2 separate regions of the Homo sapiens genome follow, and region 2 is linked to region 1. The links are contacts of gene promoters, found by promoter capture Hi-C in blood cells and fetal thymus (Javierre and others, 2016). All regions are on one chromosome and are shown on one strand. The core of a region is centred on a gene start or on the middle of the fragment in contact, and the rest is flanking DNA. Distances in the headings are between cores, read along the strand shown. Region 1 holds the start of ADAMTSL5 (ADAMTS like 5). Region 2 overlaps ATP8B3 (ATPase phospholipid transporting 8B3).

The links. Contacts are between HindIII fragments. The CHiCAGO score rates a contact against its expected background, and 5 or more counts as called.
Region 2: a fragment that was not itself captured here is called in contact with the fragment with the promoter of ADAMTSL5 in region 1 in 1 of 17 cell types (naive B cells); the score reaches 5.4 in naive B cells.

What each region holds. Positions count from the first base shown.
Region 1 is chr19:1,510,882-1,514,538 of GRCh38, forward strand. It overlaps ADAMTSL5 (ADAMTS like 5), which reads right to left and starts at 2,138. Exons shown (of 12, transcript NM_213604.3): 1 at 2,082-2,138; 2 at 1-279. The coding sequence starts at 62. RefSeq lists silencers at 1,963-2,332, 3,172-3,251. The HindIII fragment of the contact is 11,901 bases long and covers 1-3,657 here.
Region 2 is chr19:1,793,081-1,796,582 of GRCh38, forward strand. It overlaps ATP8B3 (ATPase phospholipid transporting 8B3), which reads right to left. Exons shown (of 29, transcript NM_138813.4): 17 at 2,997-3,185; 18 at 2,795-2,907. Among named protein-coding and RNA genes, the nearest start is that of ATP8B3, 17 kb to the right of the region's middle. RefSeq lists enhancers at 2,530-3,342, 2,750-3,044, 3,343-3,502 and a silencer at 2,750-3,044. The HindIII fragment of the contact is 226 bases long and covers 1,578-1,803 here.

The DNA of each region.
Region 1 (3,657 bases), core at 888-3,387:
CACAGGAAGAGCAGGAGGTTCTGGAAGAGGTGGGGCCTGGGGAACAGAGGGGCCGAGTCCATAGAGCCACCGCCAGAGACACAGGGTTGTGTCCCGGCTCTGCCCTGACTGGCTGTGTGATCTTGGAAAGTAACTAAACCTCTCTGAGCCCTACCTCTCGTCTCTGAAAAACGGGGTAATAGAGCCTCCCTTACAGGAAAGTTGAGGGGTCCTGTGGATCAGGTAAAGAAGACAGGAGACGTGGAGCCCGGTATGGAGAGGAAGAACTCAGAATGTCATCTGCAATTATTATTGTTGTTAGTTAGTTTGTTTTTGAGACGGAGTCTCGCTCTGTCGCCCAGGCTGGAGTGCAGGGGTGCGATCTCGGCTCACTGCAACCCTCCCCGGTTCAAGTAATTCTCCTGCCTCAGCATCCCGAGAAGCTAGGATTACAGGTGCCTGCCACCACGCCGGACTAATTTTTGCCGTTTTAGTGGAGACAGGGTTTCACCATCTTGGCCAGGTTGGTCTCAACCTTCTGACCTGAAGTGATCCACCTGCTTTGGCCTCCCAAAGTGCTAGGATTATAGGCATGAGCCACTGCACCCAGCCTACAATATTATTGATATGTGTATTGTGCTATAATGCAGACAGTAGGTGCTTAATCGATGCTTGATGATTGGAGGGATCATTCAAAAATAGTACACAGGTGCCTCCTAGGGCTGGGGCCCCCTCCCCGCCCTCCCCACCATCACTGCTTCTACCTTTCCGTGTGGCCTGAGGCCAGCCACTCCACTCTCCCAGGCCTCAGTTTCCCCATCTGTGCAGTGGGGGCCAAGTGGACTCAGTCCATGATTCTGTGACACCCTGCGGAAGGTGCGGCCGGCAGGGGCTGGATCAGGAGTTGGGTCCCTAGAAGAGGCCCTCAGCTGCACCCCGGCCCCAGGGCTCCCTCAGCTCCCAGACAGCAGGGAGTCCCCCGGATTGGGGATGGGACAGGGAGGGGGTGACCTGGCCCAGGTCCGTTCGGTGCCTCATGGCCTCATCGGCGGAGGGGGTGGGACTGAGCTCCGGGGCAGCCCGTGGAGGGAAGGGGCCACTGCTGAGGCTGGAGCAGGGAAGGGGAGGAGGCTGACTGCCTCTCTGGGCCTTAGTTTCTCCATCCTGTCAGGGCAGGGATGAAGTCACTTGCCATCCACACCCTCCTCATGACCCCAGCCTGCAGGGGGAAAGAGGGGGGAAGGGAAGCAGCCGCCAAGTGAGCCAGGGCGTCCTGCTGCCAGCAGAGCCTGAAGGCAGGTGGGTGAGCCCCGGCCCGGGCACCAGCTGGGGAAGAGGCTGGGTCCCACCTGGACCCTGTTTCCCTGGCTCCAGCATTTGGACTTCTGAGGCACCAAGGGTCTAGGGTCCTGGGTATCTCTAGGTACTGAGACAGCTGTGTGGTCTGCTGCATCCGTGCCCCTCTCTGAGCCTAGAGCCTGGGCTGGCCCAGGAAGCAGGAAGAAGTCTGCACCAGAAACTTAAAACAAGGGGAGGGGGGCCAGGTGCGGTGGCTCACGCCTGTAATCCCAGCACTTTGGGAGGCCAAGACAGGCGGATCACCTGAGGTCAGAAGTTTGGGACCAGCCTGACCAACATGGTAAAACCCCATCTGTACTAAAACACAAAAATTAGCCCGGTGTGGTGGTGCACACCTGTAATCCCAGCTACTTGGGAGGCTAAGGCAGGAGAATCGCTTGAACCCAGGAGGCGGAGGTTGCAGTGAGCCGAGATGGGGCCAATGCACTCCAGCCTGGGCGACATAGTGAGACTCAGTCTCAAAAACAACCAACCAACCAAAAAAAACAGGGGGAGGGGGCTTGACCTTCTGACCACCCCCACCGGACTCTAAGCCTGGTTTGAGGAGTGGGGGTCTAGGTGGTGAAAAGTGGGGGGCTACAAGGACCACCCTACCCCCTCCTCAATGGGCCCTGCCCAGAATCAAGGCTCTCCCCTCCCCGTGTGGGCTGCAGCCCGGACTGGCGGAGGGATCTCAAGGCAAGCCGCACCTCTGGGCCTCAGTTTCCCCCGGAGAAAGTGGGAGGATAGGCAGATGGACTTACCGGCTGCGCGGAGCCCAGGCAGCGCGTCCCGGCTCCCTGAGCGGCCCCAGGGCGAGCGGAAGCGGCGGGGCCCAAGGTGCTGGGCGGGGTGGGGAGCCTGGGACGGTCCCTCCCACCGCGGCCTCCGCAGGCGCGCCCAGGCCCGGGTCAGGAGGGGCGGCGGCCCCGGGCGCCCTCGCGCGGCGGGCGCGGATCTGCGGCAGGGGACTGCCCGGCGGACGCGAGCGCAGGGGTCCCGGAGCCGCAGGCTGGTGTCGGGCGCCCGGGTCCGGGTGACCTTGGCAGGCTCGGGCGGGGGCGCGGCGCGGGGACTGACCGCCCTCCTCTGCCCCGGGGCTGCTATTCCGGGCGCCGCGCTCAGGGCCCGGGAATGTGCGCGAACCGAGGTCACCCCGCCCTGGGTCTGGGAGTCCCGGGCGCTGCCCCTACCCCGCCGACGCCCGGATTGCGTCCCACCGGCGTCCCCATCCCCGGTCACAGCCCCCTCCCCTGGTCCTGCCCCTCACCCCTCTCGCGGGGGGTCGACCTGCTCGTGGATGGGGACCCTGGCGCGCCTGGGCTCCCATCCGGGGGTTCCCCGACCCAGGTCCCGGTCACCCCCAGCGCAGGGCCCCAGCGCACTGGGGAGAGGCTCGGCCCCGTGGGCCGCGCGCGGGGGGCGGAGAGACCCTCCCAGCTGGCGCATTCCCGGGCGCTGCTGTCACCAGGGGACGCGCCCCACCCCGCCTCCCGCCCTCCCTGCCGGGCCCCGGGGCTGCCAGCGGGGCTTCAGAGCCAGACCCGGGTCCAGGCGGTCCCTCTCCCTCACAGCCGCGGCCACACCCTCTCCGGCCTCAGTTTCCCCATCCCAGCAGTGGGCCCGGCAGGGATCTCCACCGCGAACCTTCCATCTGGAATCCGGCTCTGCGCGGACCGGCAACGCGAGGGGGCACCCCGGGACTCCCCCCACCCCACCCTTTCCCGCCGGGCGTCTGTGAGCCGCCCCGTGCCCACCCACGCAGGGATGAGACCAGGCCCTGGGTTCTGGGCTCCACCAGTTTCTGGTGTCGCCCCACGGCGCCCCCTGGCGGGCGGGCTGAGGGACTGGGGCACTAAAGGAGGGGGTGGAGGGACTGTCCTGCTCCCTGGGCTCCACCCAGGCTCGGTCTGAGCACCCCCTCCTCCAGGAAGCCCACCCTGCTGTCCCACAGCGCTGACCACAGGGAGAGAGGTTTGCTGGGGACATACAGGGTGTTGCTGGTCCAACTCAGTCTGCCCTCCAGCCTGTAGCATGTCAGCAGAGCCACCCATATGCCATTTATTGAGCACCTACTGTGTGCACAGCTGTGAACAACCCAGCCAGTCCCAGGCCAGCGGGTAAGGCAGCCCCCTGGAATGTATGACCCCCCACCTTCTGACCTGGACTATTGGAGAAAATAGCCCAGGCCCACCACTGATGGCCCCAGGTTGGGGGGTGGTGGTTGCGGGGATGTCAAGAAGGCCCTCACTGAAGGGGTCAAGAGAGAAGGGCAGGCCGGGCGCGGCGCCTCATGCCTGGAATCCCAGCACTGTGGGAGGCCGAGGCAGGCGGATCACC
Region 2 (3,502 bases), core at 441-2,940, 280 kb after region 1:
TCTTTTTTTTTTTTTTTCTCGGGGGTGGGGGATAGGGTCTCACTTTGTCACCCAGGCTGGAGTGCAGTGGCCCAATCATAGCTCACTGCAGCCTCGAACTCCTGGGCTCAAGTGATTCTCCTGTCTCTACCTTCCAAATAGCTGGGATCATAGGCACATGCCATCACACCCGGCTAATTTCTTTGTATATATATATATTTTTTAAATAGAGGTGGTTTCACCATGTTGCCTGGGCTGGTCTCGAACTCCAGAGCTCAAGCAAGCTGCACACCTGAGCCTCAAAACGCTGAGATTACAGGCAGAAGCCACCACACCTGGCCTGCATGGCGAATTCTGACTATCACTCAAGACCTTCTATGCAGTCCACCCACCCGGTGCCTTCCCCAGCTGGGGCTCCCCCAGTCCCAGGCCCCTCCCTCTGACCCCTCAACTTTGGCTCTCTGAGCCCCTTCCTTGGGCCCCTCATTTCTCAAGGGCCAGACCCAGGGTTGGGGCCTCTAGGGGCTGGGAGGAAACTGGGCAGGCCCAGAGAGCAGGCACCCCAAGGGTGGTCGGGGGGTCCCCAAGGAAGGTGCCCTTACGGCTTCTTACCCCCCGACCCTGCCCCCAGCTTTGTGCTCCAAGGGGTGGCCTTAGGTCTCAAATTTGTTTATTTATTTATTTTTATTTATTTATTTTTTGAGATGGAGTCTCACTCTGTTGCCCAGGCTGGAGTGTAGTGGCGCGATCTTGGCTCACTGCAAGCTCTGCCTCCCGGGTTCAAGCGATTCTCCTGCCTCAGCCTCCCGAGTAGCTGAGACTACAGGCCTGCACCACCACATCTGGCTGATTTTGTAGTTTTAGTAGAGACAGGGTTTCACCAGGTTGGTCAGGCTGGCCTCGAACTCCTGACCTCAAATGATCTGCCCGCCTCCCAAAGCACTGGGATTACAGGCGTGAGCCATCGCGCCAGCCTGTTTATTAAGAGACAGGGGTCTCGCCCTGTCGCCCAGGCTGGAGTGCAGTGGTGCGATCACAGCTTGCTGTAGCCTCCACCTCCTGCACTCAAGCGATCCTCCTGCCTCAGGCTCCCAAAGTGCTGGGACCACAGGCACGCGCCACCATGTCTGATTTCCCTTTTGTTGTTGATGGGGCACGGGTCCAAGAGCTTGGGCTTGACACAGCAGAGGAGCTTCACGGACATTGGCAGCCTCCGACAGGCCTTGACCCTTCTTCCGGCCTCAATTTACCCATCCATTCCCTGGGGTGGCTGAGCTAAGCTGACCTGCTGAGCTCCTGGGCTCTAGGTCATTATTGTGACCGCACTTCCAGTTCAGAGTGCCCCCACATCCTGGCAGAGCAGGGGACACAGGACATCTTCCCACACACACCCCGCTGCCCTGTGCTCCATGCTGCTGGGGCCCCAGCAGAACCTGTGAGGAGCCCCCAGGCTGGACGCAGAATCCTCTGGCCCTGTAGGGTCAGGGCTGGACCAGGGGGAGGCAGCCTGGGGTGATGACAGCCCCATGTTGGCAGGGGGTGGGGCAGGAAAGGCCCCATGTGTGGGGAGCTTGTGGCTGAGTCATGAGGACACCGAAAGCTTCTGAATGACAAAGGTGCAGGGAAGACCCTCCCAGCACAGGAAACAGCATGTGCAAAGGTGCCAAGGCAGCACCTGAGAGTGGGGAAGTCACAAGCCAGAAACTGGGTCCTAGGGAGTCCCTTGGTGAGGCCAAAGAGAGACCAGGCTGGAGAGGTCAGCAGGGGACAGAAAAAGCCTCAAATCCTGGGCCGAGGAGTTCGGGCTTCCCCCACAGAGTGGGAAGCTTTGGAGCAGACGGAGCTGAGTGTGTCCTGGCAGCTGGGCCAGCTCAACCGCACGGTCGTCTTGTGCAAATGAGAAAAATACACCCTTGGCCGGGCGCGGTGGCCTACGCCTGTAATCCCAGCACTTTGAGAGGGCGAGGCGGGTGGATCACCTGAGGTCACGAGTTGGAGACCAGCCTGGCAACATGGTGAAACCCCATCTCTACTAAAAATACAAAATTGGCCGGGCGTGGTGGCGGGCGCCTGTAGTCTCAGCTACTCAGGAGGCTGAGGCAGGAGGATAGCTTAAGCCTGGGAGGCAGAGGTTGCAGTGACTCAAGATTGCACCATTGCACTCCAGCCTGGGCAACAGTGCAAGACTCCCTCTCAAAAAAGAAAAGGCAGGCTGGGCGCGATGGCTCATGTCTGTAATCCCAGCACTTTGGGAGGCCAAGGGGGCAGATCACCTGAGGTCAGGAGTTCAAGACCAGCCTGGCCCACATGGCGAAAACCCATCTCTACTAAAAATATTAAAATTAGCTGGGTGCACTGGCGTGTGCCTGTAATTCCAGCTCCTCGGGAGGCTGAGGCAGGAGAATCACTTGAACCCGGGAGGCGGAGGTTGCAGCGAGCCAAGACTGTGCCACTGCACTCCAGCCTGGGCGACAGAGCAAGACTCTGTCTCAAAGAAAAGAAAAGAAAGACAAGACAAGAAAAAGAAAAAGACGCTCTCTCTCTGGGGGCTACACTTGGGAGTTCAGCTGCCTCCCAGCCGGTGTGTGTGTGTTTTGTGTGTTGCCGGGGGAGGGTGTTTTGTACAGTGCACAACATACCTCACTGTACATAGCCATCCCAGGTACCTGCAGCCTTCCATTTCTCCGTACAGTCTCCTCCCCTGCCTCCTCCTCCTCCTGTCCCTACACACACACACACACACACACACACACACACACACACACACACACACACACACACACACACATAAGCCAGCCTTCCTGAAGGGACTCACAGCCAAGGCCTCCTCTGTGGCAAATTCCATTGCCCCCCTCCTGTGCAAGCGTTCGAAGATGACCGTGTCGGCGCCCTTGGTGTACAGGCAGATGGCGCCCTCTGGCTTTCGAACTGTGGGGGAACAGGCCCTGCTGCCCACAGAGGCTCCCCGTCTGCCCGCCCCACCTTGGGGGGCCCAGGGCTTGGGTGGCGGGGCTCACCCAGCACCGACATCCGTTTGCGCGTGCTGTTGAAGTCCATTATGGCCAGGACCTGGTAGACCCGTTCCTCCCCCAGCTCCATGATCGTGACGGTGTCCTGGGTGCGGGACAGGAACACGTAGCCGAAGTTCCGGGCTGCGGTGACCAGCGCCCCCTCGTCGGGGGAGGCCGCCTGGTACAACAGCTGGTCTGGTAGGGAGGGGGGCCATTTTGGGGTCACGTGGTGGAGCCCGTCTCCATCTCCACAGTGCAGGGAGGAGATGGGTATCGCCTGGGCTACACCTTTATTGATGGTGGCCGGGGACCCCCGCCTGTACAACCCAATGCATGGAGGTGAGCACTTGAGACTAGACGACCTTCCCGCTCAACAACAGATCCTCGGGCTCCGACCGCAGGCCTGGACATCCTTTAGCCCTGACGATGACACGTCCGCCCTCCCGCCACGATGCTTGTCAGCACTGTCTGGGCTCCAGGCCCGGACGCCCTCGAGGTGCGGCTGGTGTCAC